Regions from separate parts of the Homo sapiens genome. Here regions 1, 2 and 4 are each linked to region 3. Evidence: promoter capture Hi-C in human tissues and cell types (Jung and others, 2019). All regions are on one chromosome and are shown on one strand. The core of a region is centred on a gene start or on the middle of the fragment in contact, and the rest is flanking DNA. Distances in the headings are between cores, read along the strand shown.

Region 1 (3,265 bases), core at 587-3,086, 110 kb after region 3:
ATGCCTGTAGTCCCAGATACTCGGGAGGCTGAGGCAGGAGAATCGCTTGAACTCGGGAGGCGGAGGTTGTAGTGAGCCAAGATCGCGCCACTGCACCCCAGCCTAGGAACAGAGCGAGACTCTGTCTCAAAAAAAAAAAAAAAAAAAAACCTACCAGGCTATAGCTGAAGAGTTTGGTAAAAAGGCTTACTTAAAGTTTTTTTTTACCTTAACAAATAACAATAGTAGACTAGTATTTTTAAATAAGCTTGTTTTTAATCATGAGGGTTCTATTTTATAAATTTTAAATGTTTTAAGTCAAGTGCAATGGCACACACCTGTAGTCCCAGCTACTTGGGAGGCTGAGGTGGGAAGATCAGTTGAGCTCAGGAGTTTGAGGCCGGCCTGGTGTGAACATAGGGAGACTCTCTCTAAAATTAAAATATAAATAAATATTTTAGAAAAAAGTTTAAGCTATATACATTCATTGAATATCATGTATGTATCTCATTTTACTTGTAATTTATGTGAAAACTTGACAGATTTTTAATGCATACTGTTTTTGACAATCACAAATAAGATTTAAATCATATTTAAATTAAACATGTTGGAATACTTAATTGAATTCCACATTCACCAATTCAGCAAATATTACTTAGTATTTGTCTATTTGGCCCTATATAAGGATTTGTAAGAGTTATGTAGGATTACTTACCAAAGATTTTAACCCTTTTGAATTCAAAGTGTGAAATAATATGAAAGAGCACTAAGACAGTTTTTAGGAAGAATATACATTTTTTTTTTAAACGTTGAGCTGTCCTGATTATAACCAGTTGTGTTCATATTAAATTAAAGGGAAAGTCTTTTATTTAACTTATTCTATTTTTATATCTTTCTTTTTTTTTATGTGGGGAAGGGAAATTGACTAGTAGAGATGGCATACAGATTTTGAGGAGACAATGTGTCTTCCTTTCTGGGTCTAAAATTCTTCAAAATAACTTGAAAATGTAATGCAAATGCAAACATAATGTATGTGCAATGTTTATATGTGTACACATACACACATATGTATGTACATACATAATGAGGCATATTTACAAGGATGCTTTAAATTTCAAGCTTAGCATTTCTCTATGAAATTCAGTGTTCATTTTGGCAACACTAGTTGGTGATGAGCCTGCCACAGTATCTATGTAGAAATGACTTTTCAAAGACCAGAAATGTGTTTTGGTTTGGGATTGTGTTTTTAGCATATTGTTGCTTTGAAATCCAGGGTAAAAAATGTAACTGTTAGCACTTACATCTTTAACATTTAGCATTGTAGAACAAACCTACGCGCCAGCTGAATGTGTAAGCCAGGCCATAGACATCAATGAACCAATAGGCAATTTAAAGAAACTGCTAGAACCAAGACTACAGTGTTCTTTGGATGCTCATGAAATTTGTCTGCAAGATATCCAGGTAATTTTTATTTTTGTAAATTTCTATTGCAACATTTTAGTCTGCATAGGAATATTTTTTGTTAGCCTTTTCTTTATAGCTATAGACTTTATCTCTGTAAGAAGATTTGACCTGTATTACTGTAAAATTTAAGTGTTTAGAAATAAAAAGGTTTTTAAGCAAAGTTTTCTCCATTTAAAGTTATATTTTAAATATTTAGTACTAAAACAAATGAAACATTTGTTTTTTACTTTCACAAATATAAAACGAGAAGTTTAAATAAATTAGAATCAAAGCTTAAATATAAGTAGTAACAGTAGGAAGCCCATTGACTTTTGAAGCTGAAGTGTATTTCTAGCCAGCTTTTAACTTCTCAAACGTATCATTTAACTAAATGATTTCTACATTTCTGTTTTACCTTTATTTTCTCTAACAGTAAGTTTTGGATAAGAATTTAAATATCAACTGATAGGTCCTGGAATTTATTGTAAAAGGATTTTACCCATGGTAGTAGTATAATATGTTATGTCTGAAACATATCCCGAGTCATATTTTACAGTATGTTTTAAAGATAGGTAGTACTTTTATGTATGAAAGGTAGCAGCCTAAATAGGATTGCCCATACAGTTTTCCATGACCTTCCTTAAACATATGATTAAATACTAGAGTTTTATACTTTTTTTTTTTCTTTTTTTTGAAATGGAGTCTCGTTCTGTCACCCAGGCTTTAGTGCAGTCGTGTAGTTTCGGGTCACTGCAACCTCCACCTCCCAGGTTCAAACGATCCTCCTGCCTCAGCCTCCTGAGTAGCTGGGACTACTACAGGCCGATGCTTCCACACCTGGCTAATTTTCGTATTTTTAGTAGACACGGGGTTTTGCTGTGTTGGCCAGGCTGCTCTTGAACTCCTGATCTCAAGTGATCCGCCTGCCTTGGCCTCCCAAAGTGCTAGGATTACAGGTGTGAGCCAGCGTGCCTGGCTGAGTTTTATACTATTTTTATATTAACTTAGATTAATGTATATTGTTTCATCTTCTGGATCGTTTGATTTATTTTATTCTTTACTCCTTCCCCTGCCTGCCTTGTGATATGGGTATTCTGTATATTACAGAACTTTTTTATTAGTTTTTTAAAAATTCAAATCATCATATGCTGCTACTATTTTTAATAAGATATTGTTGTACAATAAGTTGAAGTGTTTTAACAAAATTTGTGCATTTTATTTGCCTTTTAACCATACTTTAATCTTTTCATTTCAATATAAATCTAGTAATTGGTGGTGGGTAGGGAAGATAGAGTGCCTCTAAAACTAGGGCATGTGGGAAAGTCTAGTAGTGTTACAAATTTTAGGATTTAAAGTTTTTTTCTCTTAACAATGAGAGGATGAGTTAGCTTAGTCTTTTTGGAAGACCACCTCCCATTTAATATCTGTTAATGTTAAATGTGAAATTCCTAACAGTTCCACTTCAGCAAATTATTCCTACAGAAATGCTCACTTGGGTAGGTAAAGATATATGCATGAAGATGTTCATGGCTTTGCAAAAACTGAAAACACCTCAAATGTTCCAAAAATGAGATTTGATAGAATAGAATTCGAGGTAGCCATTAAAAACTGGTGAACTTGAGCTATATGGGCAAGGTACGTTGAGTGAAAAAAATACTTACAAAACACTCTAATTCTCTCACGTAATCTTCACATCAGTCTTTGAAATCAGCATATTTTTAGTCACATTCTGCAGATGTAGAAACAGATTTAAAGAGGTTAAATAATTTGCCCAATGTGTGGCTACAAAAGGGTATACTGGAATTTGAACCCAGACCTCTGTGGCTCCAGAACTCTCTTCACT
Region 2 (3,092 bases), core at 30-2,529, 98 kb before region 3:
GTAGGCACGGTACCACTCAAAAAAATAATAATAATAATAATAAAATTTAAAAAAAAAACACTCCTACTGTTCTCTTTGAAGTTCTAGCAGTTTTTTTAAGAATAAGTGTTTCTCAATTTGTTGTTTGCCTTTAGTTGATTTCCAGTGCCCAAACTCTTCACAGCTCCATAACTGGAAGTTCTTTATCCCAGAGAGATTTGAGAAAAAAATTATACCTAAAAACGCAAGAACAGACTGTTACAAAACAAACCATGCACAAAAAGCCACTTAGAAGTATTAGAAGTTATTTTTAAGTGCTTGAATAAGAAGAAATGTAAGCTTTAATTATGAGCTAATTAGAAATTAATAAAACCAGGACAACACACATAAAAACTAATGAAATTGAGACAAAATAGTACTCAAAGAAGTATTTTAGCTTTAAGTTTATTTATAAGAAATAGAGAAAGAAATTAGAAACTCAAGAAATTAGAAAAAAGACAATAAAATAAACTAAAATAAAATAGAAGGAAGCAAAGCATAAAGCTAAAAAAGGGAAGTAATGAAATATGGAAGAGAGAATGAATCTTAGTAAATAAATCCAAGAACTATTTATTTAGAAAAGACCAGTGAAACACACAAACTTCAAGCAAGTCCAATGAATGAAAATATCACTAGAATTTAAGCTCTATAAGTGCAGATATTTTGCTTTGTTTGCCAATGTATTCCTAGCACCAAGAAAATTGTCTAGCACATATGAGTACTCTATAAATATTTGTTAAATGAAAGAATGAATGAACAAACATTTTTAAAAAGTTTAAGGCTATGAAAACAAATATGTAAGAGAATTCTTTAAATATTGTATATGATACTATAAATCTTATAAATACACTCCTCAGAGACTCAAAAGCAGACTTAAACAAATAAAAGCATACTAATCAGTCATGGCTGCAATAGTTCTGTGTAACAAATAACCCCAGTTCTTTAAAATAATAACCATATGTTTCATACTTGTAGGTCTGCAGGTTGGCTACAAATAAACTGTAATATGTTTGGCCACCCCATGACCAAATTAAGTTCAACACCTCAGAGTTCCCTGACTCTGGGTTTTGGGCTCTAAGCCCCAGGCTACACGCTAAAGGTTAGGTTCAGCTCTAATTCATGTAGCTCCATGTTCACTTTGGATCAGAGACTACTCATTGCATGCTCTTCTCATGGCCGACCACAGAAGCAAAAGAGGCCAAGTCAAATCATGCAAGCACATGACTTGTACTTTAAATGCCTTCATCCATTAACATTCCATTGTGCAAAGGAAGACACTGGGACAGGAAAATAGGCTATACCCACTCTAGGGCACTGCACAGTCATGGCAGAAAGAAGTAGTGTTAGATTGAAAATAATCCAACCAGCAACAAAATCCAGCTTTACACATAATTAAAGATATGCAAAATAAGACCACATTGAGGTAACATCTTACTCATCCAGTTGAAAAAAATTCTAAATATATTTTGTTTTTGAGGTTGTGGGGAAACAGCCATTCTCATACATTGATAGTTGGAATGCAAACTGATACAATCCTTCTGGAAAGGAATTTGGTAATCCCATGAAAAGTTATATGTGCATTTATCCTTTGACACAGCAATTCCACATCTAAATATCTATCCAAAAAATATATCAGTGTGATAGTCAGTTTTATGTATCAACTTGGCTAGGCTATAGTTCCCAGTTATTCAATCAAATGCTAATCTTGGTGTTGCTGTGAATGTACTTTGTAGTGTGATAAGTCTATCATCAGCTTACTTTTAGTAATAAAGATAATCCTAGATAATCTGGGTGGGTCTGATTTATTCAGTTCAAAGGCCCTAAAAGCAGAACTGAAGTTTCTCTGAAGAAGAAGAAATTCTACCTGTAGACTACAGCTTCAGCTTGTGCCTGGGAGTTCTAGCCTACCCTTTCCCACGGCCAGCCCTACATGTTTCAGACCTGTCTAGCCATCCCTAACAATCACACAAACCCATTCCTTACAATAAATAGCCTGCTGCTTCTCCTTCTTGGGAGGAACCCTGACTGATACAATTGGTAAAAATACAAAAGACGTATTAGGTTGGCACAAAAAGTTGGCACATTGAAAGTAATGGGAAAAACCACAGTTACTTTTGTGCCAACCTAATAAACAAAAGTAGTCATTATAGCACTACTTGTAATTATAAAAAATTTTAAAACCACACAAATGTCCATCAATTTGGGGTCTATGATGGAAGAGTATGCAACTTTATTGAGAAATTATGACTATCTCTATCTTCTGCTAGGGGATGATATCCAAGATATACTGTAAAGTAAGAAACAAAGATGGAGAAAAGTGTGGACAGCACACTGCCATTTATCTAAGAGAAAGAAGCAGATATATAGAGACATAGATATATACATATTTATATGCACACATACACACATATATGCACATATTTTTTAATTGAGGGATATAGTATAAAAATATTTTAAGGAAAACAAAGAAGAAAAAGGAGAAGACAGGAAAAGAAGGTAAAAATACCTTATTTAATAAATTTGACTTTGAAACCAGACAAATGAATTACAAAAATATAAAACAGAAATAACTCAATACCTAAAAATCAAAAGTAAATTAAACAAGTAAACTTAATTTTGCATCAAAGTAGCAGCAAACAGGAAGAAATAATTTCAAGTAACTTTAAGACAAAGTAATTGGACTGCACATCCCTGTGAACTATACTCTAAGGACAAAGAGAACTAAAAACAATTATAAAGTATTAAGCTGTTTTCAGTAATAATAGTACAGCAATAACATTGGTGCTATACATTCTGGTGTGTGTGTGCATGTGTGTGTGGTTTGAATGAAGCAAACAGTTATATTGATGCTGTTGAGGGCCAGGATATTTGGCATCAGAGAGGAGACCTGCTGGTTTAGTATCAAATACTATATGATCTCATTTGTAGGTGGAATCTAAAAAAGTTAAACTCATAGAAATGGAGAGCAGAATAATAGTTGCCAGCGTCTGGTGGCGGTAGGGAAAATGAGGAGATGTTGTTCAAAGGGTGCAAATATTCAGTTATAAAATAAACAAGTTCTGGGGATCTAATGT
Region 3 (3,353 bases), core at 592-3,091:
AAATGTATATAGCCACTTAGATCTATAGGCTACCATATTGGACACCACAGTTCTAAAATATGAGTCTTTTCTTATCTCATTGCTTTCAAAAAGCTCATTAGCTGTAGGATGAGGTCTAGACAGTAGCGTGAATGCTCTTCGTACTCTAACCTCCCCTTCAGTTTCTACCACCACCACCACCTACCTCACTATCCCGATCCCACATACACTTTAGTACTGTAGAACCTTGCTTTTTCTAAATAAACCATAATTTTTCAATCTCCTAGCTCTGGATCCTGCTGTTTCCTCTATGTAGAATGCCTCTCCTTTATGTCCTTCCCTTCAGAATTTGACCCATTTTTCAAGGTTTAATAAAGAAAGCCCTGGCCCCACTCCCAACAAAAGGAACAGCCCCTTATCATGGACCTTGGACAAGCCATTTAGTGTCTCTCCGCCCAGTTTTCTCATCTGCAAAGTGGGAATGATAACATTTCCTCTTTTATGGAGTTGTTGGGGGATTAGATATTGCGTTATTCAGACTCCATCACTGAGAAAGCATGCAATAAAAATAGCTGTTATTATTTTCTGTCCTCCTGTAACATTTACCATGTGGTATCAGGCATCTTTCCTGATAAGACTCTGTCTCCCCTCAAGACTGTGAGCTTGTTAGCAAGAAAGCCTCTATCTTGTTCATGGTTGTCCTTCAGCATCCAGCACATTGTTGCCATTTGTCAAATGCCTTGGCTGGGTGGCAAATAAATAACTTAGTCAGTTACTCACATAGGATTGCATAGAATTTTTTTAAGTATGACATTTTTGTGTATATTTTTAGGGAGGAGTAAAAGACATATAGCTGTAGCAAGAATTAGAAAAAAGAAGATGCCAACAACTTTTCTTTTTAAGCATCAAATCCTTCTCATTACTGCCCAGAAAAACTGGCATAAGCTGTTGTTAAATCTGTGCCCCTTCTCCTCGGTTGACTGGAGTACGAGTTTTAACATTTTGCCATTTTGACTTTCCTTTCTGGGTCCCCTGGGTCCTCTCCTCCCACCCCCTCCCTGGGTACTAAGTTTTCATCACTGTCACCACGGCAACAGCAAGGATGCCTCATTCCTCACAGTTCTGCACAGCTAAACTCTGGTCGCCTTTGTCCACTGAGCTAGCTGAATTCTTTTTAAATACACCACTAAATCAACTATCTGCTGTACAGAACTTCATCCATTATTCAACCTTTAAAAAAAAACAAAAACAAAAACAAACAAAAAAACAAAAGAAAAAAACTGATGTATACTAATTTCTTCTCCTGGGAATGGCCTTTTTCCAGACCTGCCAATACTCTTGAATACACCATACATTTTTGGTCCCTAGGAACAAATATAAAAATTGCCAGTGTACGTGCGTCCAATGTAAGTGTGGTGCAATTTTAAAGCACGCAACAGAGCATTCATAATGGGTTTCCCTTTTAAAAGCACAGTAGACCAAAAATAAACCTGACAAAGGGCAGCTGTAGAGTTTTAACACGTGGAAAACTCCACAAGCAGCAGTTATGTAACTTGAAAGAAACATGATAAATATTTCACACCATTAGATGAACTTCCAACTCTGACACTGAAAAAAAAGCAAAGAACAAGAACGCGAGACAAATGCACCTCAAATCTCCAAGGAGCAAAAAGCTTAAACTGAGAAGGGACCAAGGCTGTACTAAAATCTGAGACCTGACTTCCAGCACGAGTCTTGATTGCTTTTTTTTTTCTCGAGTTCGAGGCGGAGCCCGCGAACCCCATCTCCTCAGAGCGCCACCCCCTCAGCTTCGCCCGTTGGGCAGAATTTTCCAAATATCTCCACCCCTAGGCTGAAAAGCCAGAAAGAAGTTTTGAGCCAACGAGGGGAAGAAAGGAGTTGGGGCAAAACAGGAGGCGTTTCCCTACCCGCATACATCCCCGTCCCCGAGACACCCAATCCCCCCACCCCCAGCCTGCCCGCGCCTCCCGCCCCCAGCTCCTCGCCCTGGGGACAGCTGGCAGCCCCGCGCGGACCAGACACAAAGCCGATCAATCCCGGAGGCGTGGGGGCGGAGGGACGACCCGCCGGGGCTTTCCCGGGCGCTGCTCTCCTCCTGCTGCCCCCTCGCTAGGACCCGGCGGACGCCTCGTCTGGTTTTCACGCCCTCTAGCCCCTACCCCCACACCCCCAAAACAGAACAGACCCCCATCCCTGGGCTGGAGGACCCGCCTCTTGGCAGCCAGCTGAGAAGGCGCCCCGGGGAGGGGGAAACTGACATCCCATCTAGAGCCGTCCCTCCTCTTCCTCCCCTCCCGACTCTCTGCTCCTTTCCCGCCCCAGAAGTTCAAGGGCCCCCGGCCTCCTGCGCTCCTGCCGCCGGGACCCTCGACCTCCTCAGAGCAGCCGGCTGCCGCCCCGGGAAGATGGCGAGGAGGAGCCGCCACCGCCTCCTCCTGCTGCTGCTGCGCTACCTGGTGGTCGCCCTGGGCTGTAAGTTGCTCGGGTTCCTCTACCCTTCCTGCCTGGACCAGCCTGCCCCCACCCTCCAGCCCCCCACGGGGCGCTGGCTGACAGTGTCTGGGCGGCTCTGGGCCGAGGTCGCCGCGGGGCGTCTGACCTTGCGCCCAGGCGAGCGGGAAACCCAGGGTGCCCGCGAGCGGACGCTGGGAGCAAGGGAGCGCGAGGTCGTGGGTTTCTTGTGAATTGCGTCTGATTTTGTCAGTTCTAGATACAGAAAATTAAGGGTTCCCACTAGCAGGTTCTCATCTGTTTGCAAAGTTGGGGTAAGTTTTCAGACAGAGGGACGTGATTCGAATGCAAAACTCACTACCCACTGGTAAGATGCTAAGACCCCAAGAAAGATGGCATCACTGGGAGGCGGGCGCCGGCCACACTTTGAGTCCCCGGGGAGGGGGCAGCGTCCGCGTGGTCTGGGCTCTGTAGCGTCCCAGCTGAGCCGGCGATATGCAGCGCACTTGTGGGGCGGAGGTGGAGGGAATTCGTGGCTGCTGAGCCAGAATTACTTTTATCCTCTCCACCTGCACATCTACATTCACTTAGAGAAGTCTGGTCTGGGGACTCTAGCCAGCTGCTCTGTCCTCAGGGGACATCCAACGGGACGATTGTTAGAAAGATTCAGAAGCCACATGATCCAGTAGCTGGGGAGACGTCCCAAAGCCAATTTCACCGGATGATTTTAAACAGGATTTTCACGGATTCTGGACTCATGAGATTTGAAATCCTGGGAACGTTGCCGTTATTTTGTTTTCTTCGCGTTAACTTTTTAGGAAAATGGAGGAAATTACAATAGACTAAGCAATGCAGTTCTACTTTTGCTTTTTCTTTTTTCTCTCACCTTTTTTGTTTTGCTT
Region 4 (3,433 bases), core at 806-3,305, 87 kb after region 3:
TTATTAACACATATCAGAGATATTGTCAAATACTAAAAAGACATGGCTGCTTTTCCTTTAAAATTTACTTTTTTTAAGCCTGATTTTGACCATTAAAATATTTTTTAAAATAACTTCCTTGAGAGACAGTTATAGTCACTAAAATTTTGACCATGTCTGATATGCCACTTATCTAGAATGTATCTGCTGGAACTCTTCTTATTAGGACAAAACAACACCATAAAGTTTACTCTTTTAAAGTAAGTTCCTTTATAGAACCCCCGTCATCCCTACCTTTCCCTCATCAATCTGAACAGAACTGTAACAGACTCTGTGATCTGCAAGCAAAGATGAGGGACCTGGGTTACTGGGAGAAAATTATTTAACATTTGAGGAGATCAAAGTTAAACACAATAGATGTTCCAAGACATATAAAAAATTACACTCAGATTTCTGAGAAAGCTATGACCAAGAATTTATAAACCATTTCTTCATGTTCTAAAGGAAGGGTAACATCCCTCCACAACAAGCAGGGTTATGTGCAAGTTGTGTCCAGTTCATCCAAGGTCTCCATCTGCTTTATTATAACCAAATGAAAGGATCTAAAAACAACTCTAACACACAGAACTCAATTCATCAAGAACACACTCAACATCACCAAATAATTTATTTGGACTCAGAATTAAAAGAACATTTGACAGTTATGAAATGCATGTTTATTCTGAAACTTCTAACTAGTTGTACAACTAATCCGTGACAAATTACCAGATTAATTTTACTTTATTTCTTCAGGCCTGGGGTTTTTCGATGACTTCAAATTTGGGATCTAAGAAGAGGGGGAAAAAAGGGTCAAGCTTAGCCAAATTGCAATAAAATGGATTATGTAGAATGCTCAAGATTTAACTCATCAATTTTCTGATTTTTTTAGTAAACACTGTTTGTAAACATTTACATAGAAATATAGCTAAACATTTATGCAACACTTTCTATGAGCCATGCATTCCATTAATTGACTTTGCATATATTATGTCATTTAACTACATATGCAGAAGATACTATAATTCTCCCCAAATGTCAGATGAGGAGACATGCACCAGTTAATTACTCAAGATTACACAGCTGAAAGTGATTATAAGGATTCAAGATTGGGCAGTTCGATTTCAGATCCCCACCATTTAATCACTATGTTATGTGATCTCCTATACTGCTCTTATTCTAACAGCAAACATTTAGCCGGCAGCTTCTCAGGCACACGTCATGGTCCTAATAAATTCACATGTCAACACTGTCATTCAGTTCTCTAAAAATCCAGGTAAGTGTAAATATTCTTCACTTATCCCCCACAAGAATGAATCTGTGATTTATAAGACGTACCTTCAAATTTGAAGGTGGGAAATGTATTCATGTCTGCATTACCAAACATTTGCTTGAGCTTAAAAAGCTCCCTCTCCAGCTCTTGCTGATACTCTGAACTAGCATCAACAGGTCCTCCAGATGTCCTGTTAAGTAAATGAGCAAACAAAAATTAATTTTGTGTACTAGCTTACAAAAACAAAATTACTTTTCACCACCACATTCCAACAGATCTTTTTTTTTTTTTCTTTTTTGAGACGGAGTCTTGCTTGGTCGCCAGGCTGGAGTGCGGTAGCATGATCTTGGCTCTCTGCAACCTCCGACTCCCTGGTTCAAGCGATTCTCCTGTCTCAGCCTCCCAAGTAACTGGGATTACAGGCACACGCCACCATGCCCAGCTAATTTTTGTATTTTTAGTAGAGAGGGGGTTTCACCATGTTAACCAGGATGGTCTCGATCTCCTGACCTCATGATCCGCCCGCCTCGGCCTCCCATAAGTGCTCGGATTACAGGCGTGAGCCACCACACCCGGCCAATAGACCTTTTTAAAGCATTCATGTAGTCAAAGAAAAGACTTCAGAAAGAAAATAAGTATTTCTACTTCAATTTCAATTCAAACTATTTTATTACGATGAGGTTTCACATAAATGAGGTATCCTCAAACCAATCTCTAACATTCAAGGTTTCTCAGAATCACGGACACTCACTAAGTCAGAATTTCTCAGGGTCTAAGTTGCAAAAGGTGTATCGTTAAGTCTACAGGCTCTGGAGTCAAAGACTGGTCCTGTTTGAGTGTAAGTTCAACTATTCAGCAACTGCGTAAACCTGAGTAAGGCACAGAGCACTCTAAATTTTAGTTTCCACAACTAAATATGAAGGTTCTACCAAACGAGGGTGTAAATGCACACGTACCTCTAAGCACAGTGCCTGGCACACAGTGAGTACTCAATTATTATCTACTAATATCATCTGCTTTAAGTCAGCCATCACTAAATGGCTTTTAAAGACCTTAGACTTTTAAGTTTCTACCATAGGGGTCCTATTAAAGAAGCAAATTATTTCCTACCCTCAGAGATTTTGCAATTTCGAAGAAAAAAATTACATGTTTACAAACATTTATGCTGTAAAGGAGTGATGTGATGAGCTTCAAAGACATGATTTAACAAAAAGCTATTCAAGTTGAGGAAGAGATTACTTTTGCTAAGCTAATCAGGGAAAATTTCATTTTAAAAAGGTGGCATTTGAGAAACATCAGGCATCTGGGGCCAGGGTTTATTTTGAGACCTTCTAAGATGGAAAAAGCAAAGACATAGAGGTGGTAAGGGATTGGCTGTATGTGGGGAATGCTAAGGAGTCTAGATGGAAAAACCAGCAGACCCCAGATCATGGGAGGCCCGGAATGTTAAGCCTGGGAGTTTGTATTTTATTTGCCAAGCAATAAAATGACAAAATTAGACTTGTGCATTTTGGGAAAATAAATATAGCATTATGGACCAGCAGCAGGGCCAACTGGGTCTCATTAATTCTTTGAAGAAATTCTTCTGTTTTTGTCATAAATACTACTGCCTACCTAGCAATGAACAATATTCTAAATGTAAAAAAATGTACACATGAAAATTCCTTCAAGGGTAATAACATTTTTACACATGCCTATGATCAAAGTATACAGTCTTATTTAAGTTAAAGAACATGCACAAAAAATACATAGGTGGCTCCAATTTAAGAACTTGTTATCAATATTTCTTGTTAGAGACCCAATTTTCTTTTAGATTAGCACTGTCCAATAGACCTTTTTGTGATGTTAGAAACGCTCTCTGTCTGTGCTGTCCAGTGTGGCAGCCACTAGCCATATCTGGCTATTGAGCACTAGAAATATAGCTAACATGAATGAGAAAATGAGAAACTGAATTTATAAATACACTTAATTGTAATTAGAATTTGAATAGTCTCATGGATAACGGCAACCAAAATGGACACTGCGGTTCTAAATAGATCCTTCAACTAGATACTCTAATACTGGTTACAGATGGATGATGGCTATTTTAACTTTAATATGCACTCTTGTGATAAAAAGAGGCCAGAAATCATCTACCTCCTCAAC

The links. The method cuts DNA at HindIII sites, captures the fragments that hold promoters and counts their contacts. A contact is called where the count stands out against the background at its distance.
Region 1: a contact is called between a fragment that was not itself captured here and the fragment with the promoter of JAM2 in region 3, in 3 of the 25 tissues and cell types used here (dorsolateral prefrontal cortex, lymphoblastoid cells and mesendoderm cells).
Region 2: a contact is called between a fragment that was not itself captured here and the fragment with the promoter of JAM2 in region 3, in 2 of the 25 tissues and cell types used here (lymphoblastoid cells and mesendoderm cells).
Region 4: a fragment that was not itself captured here is called in contact with the fragment with the promoter of JAM2 in region 3 in 3 of the 25 tissues and cell types used here (dorsolateral prefrontal cortex, heart left ventricle and hippocampus).

Annotation. Positions count from the first base shown.
Region 1 is chr21:25,743,915-25,747,179 of GRCh38, forward strand. It overlaps GABPA (GA binding protein transcription factor subunit alpha), which reads left to right. Exons shown (of 10, transcript NM_002040.4): 3 at 1,296-1,440. Among named protein-coding and RNA genes, the nearest start is that of GABPA, 11 kb to the left of the region's middle. The HindIII fragment of the contact is 6,409 bases long and covers 1-3,265 here.
Region 2 is chr21:25,540,099-25,543,190 of GRCh38, forward strand. No RefSeq gene overlaps it. Among named protein-coding and RNA genes, the nearest start is that of MIR155HG, 20 kb to the right of the region's middle. The HindIII fragment of the contact is 7,043 bases long and covers 1-3,092 here.
Region 3 is chr21:25,637,417-25,640,769 of GRCh38, forward strand. It overlaps JAM2 (junctional adhesion molecule 2), which reads left to right and starts at 1,842. Exons shown (of 10, transcript NM_021219.4): 1 at 1,842-2,472. The coding sequence starts at 2,406. RefSeq lists enhancers at 1,475-1,614, 2,352-2,852, 2,755-2,824 and a silencer at 1,835-2,024. The HindIII fragment of the contact is 5,846 bases long and covers 1-2,843 here.
Region 4 is chr21:25,723,873-25,727,305 of GRCh38, forward strand. ATP5PF (ATP synthase peripheral stalk subunit F6) reads right to left here. Exons shown (of 4, transcript NM_001003703.2): 3 at 1,354-1,478; 4 at 628-805. The coding sequence ends at 768. Among named protein-coding and RNA genes, the nearest start is that of ATP5PF, 9.3 kb to the right of the region's middle. The HindIII fragment of the contact is 7,027 bases long and covers 1-3,433 here.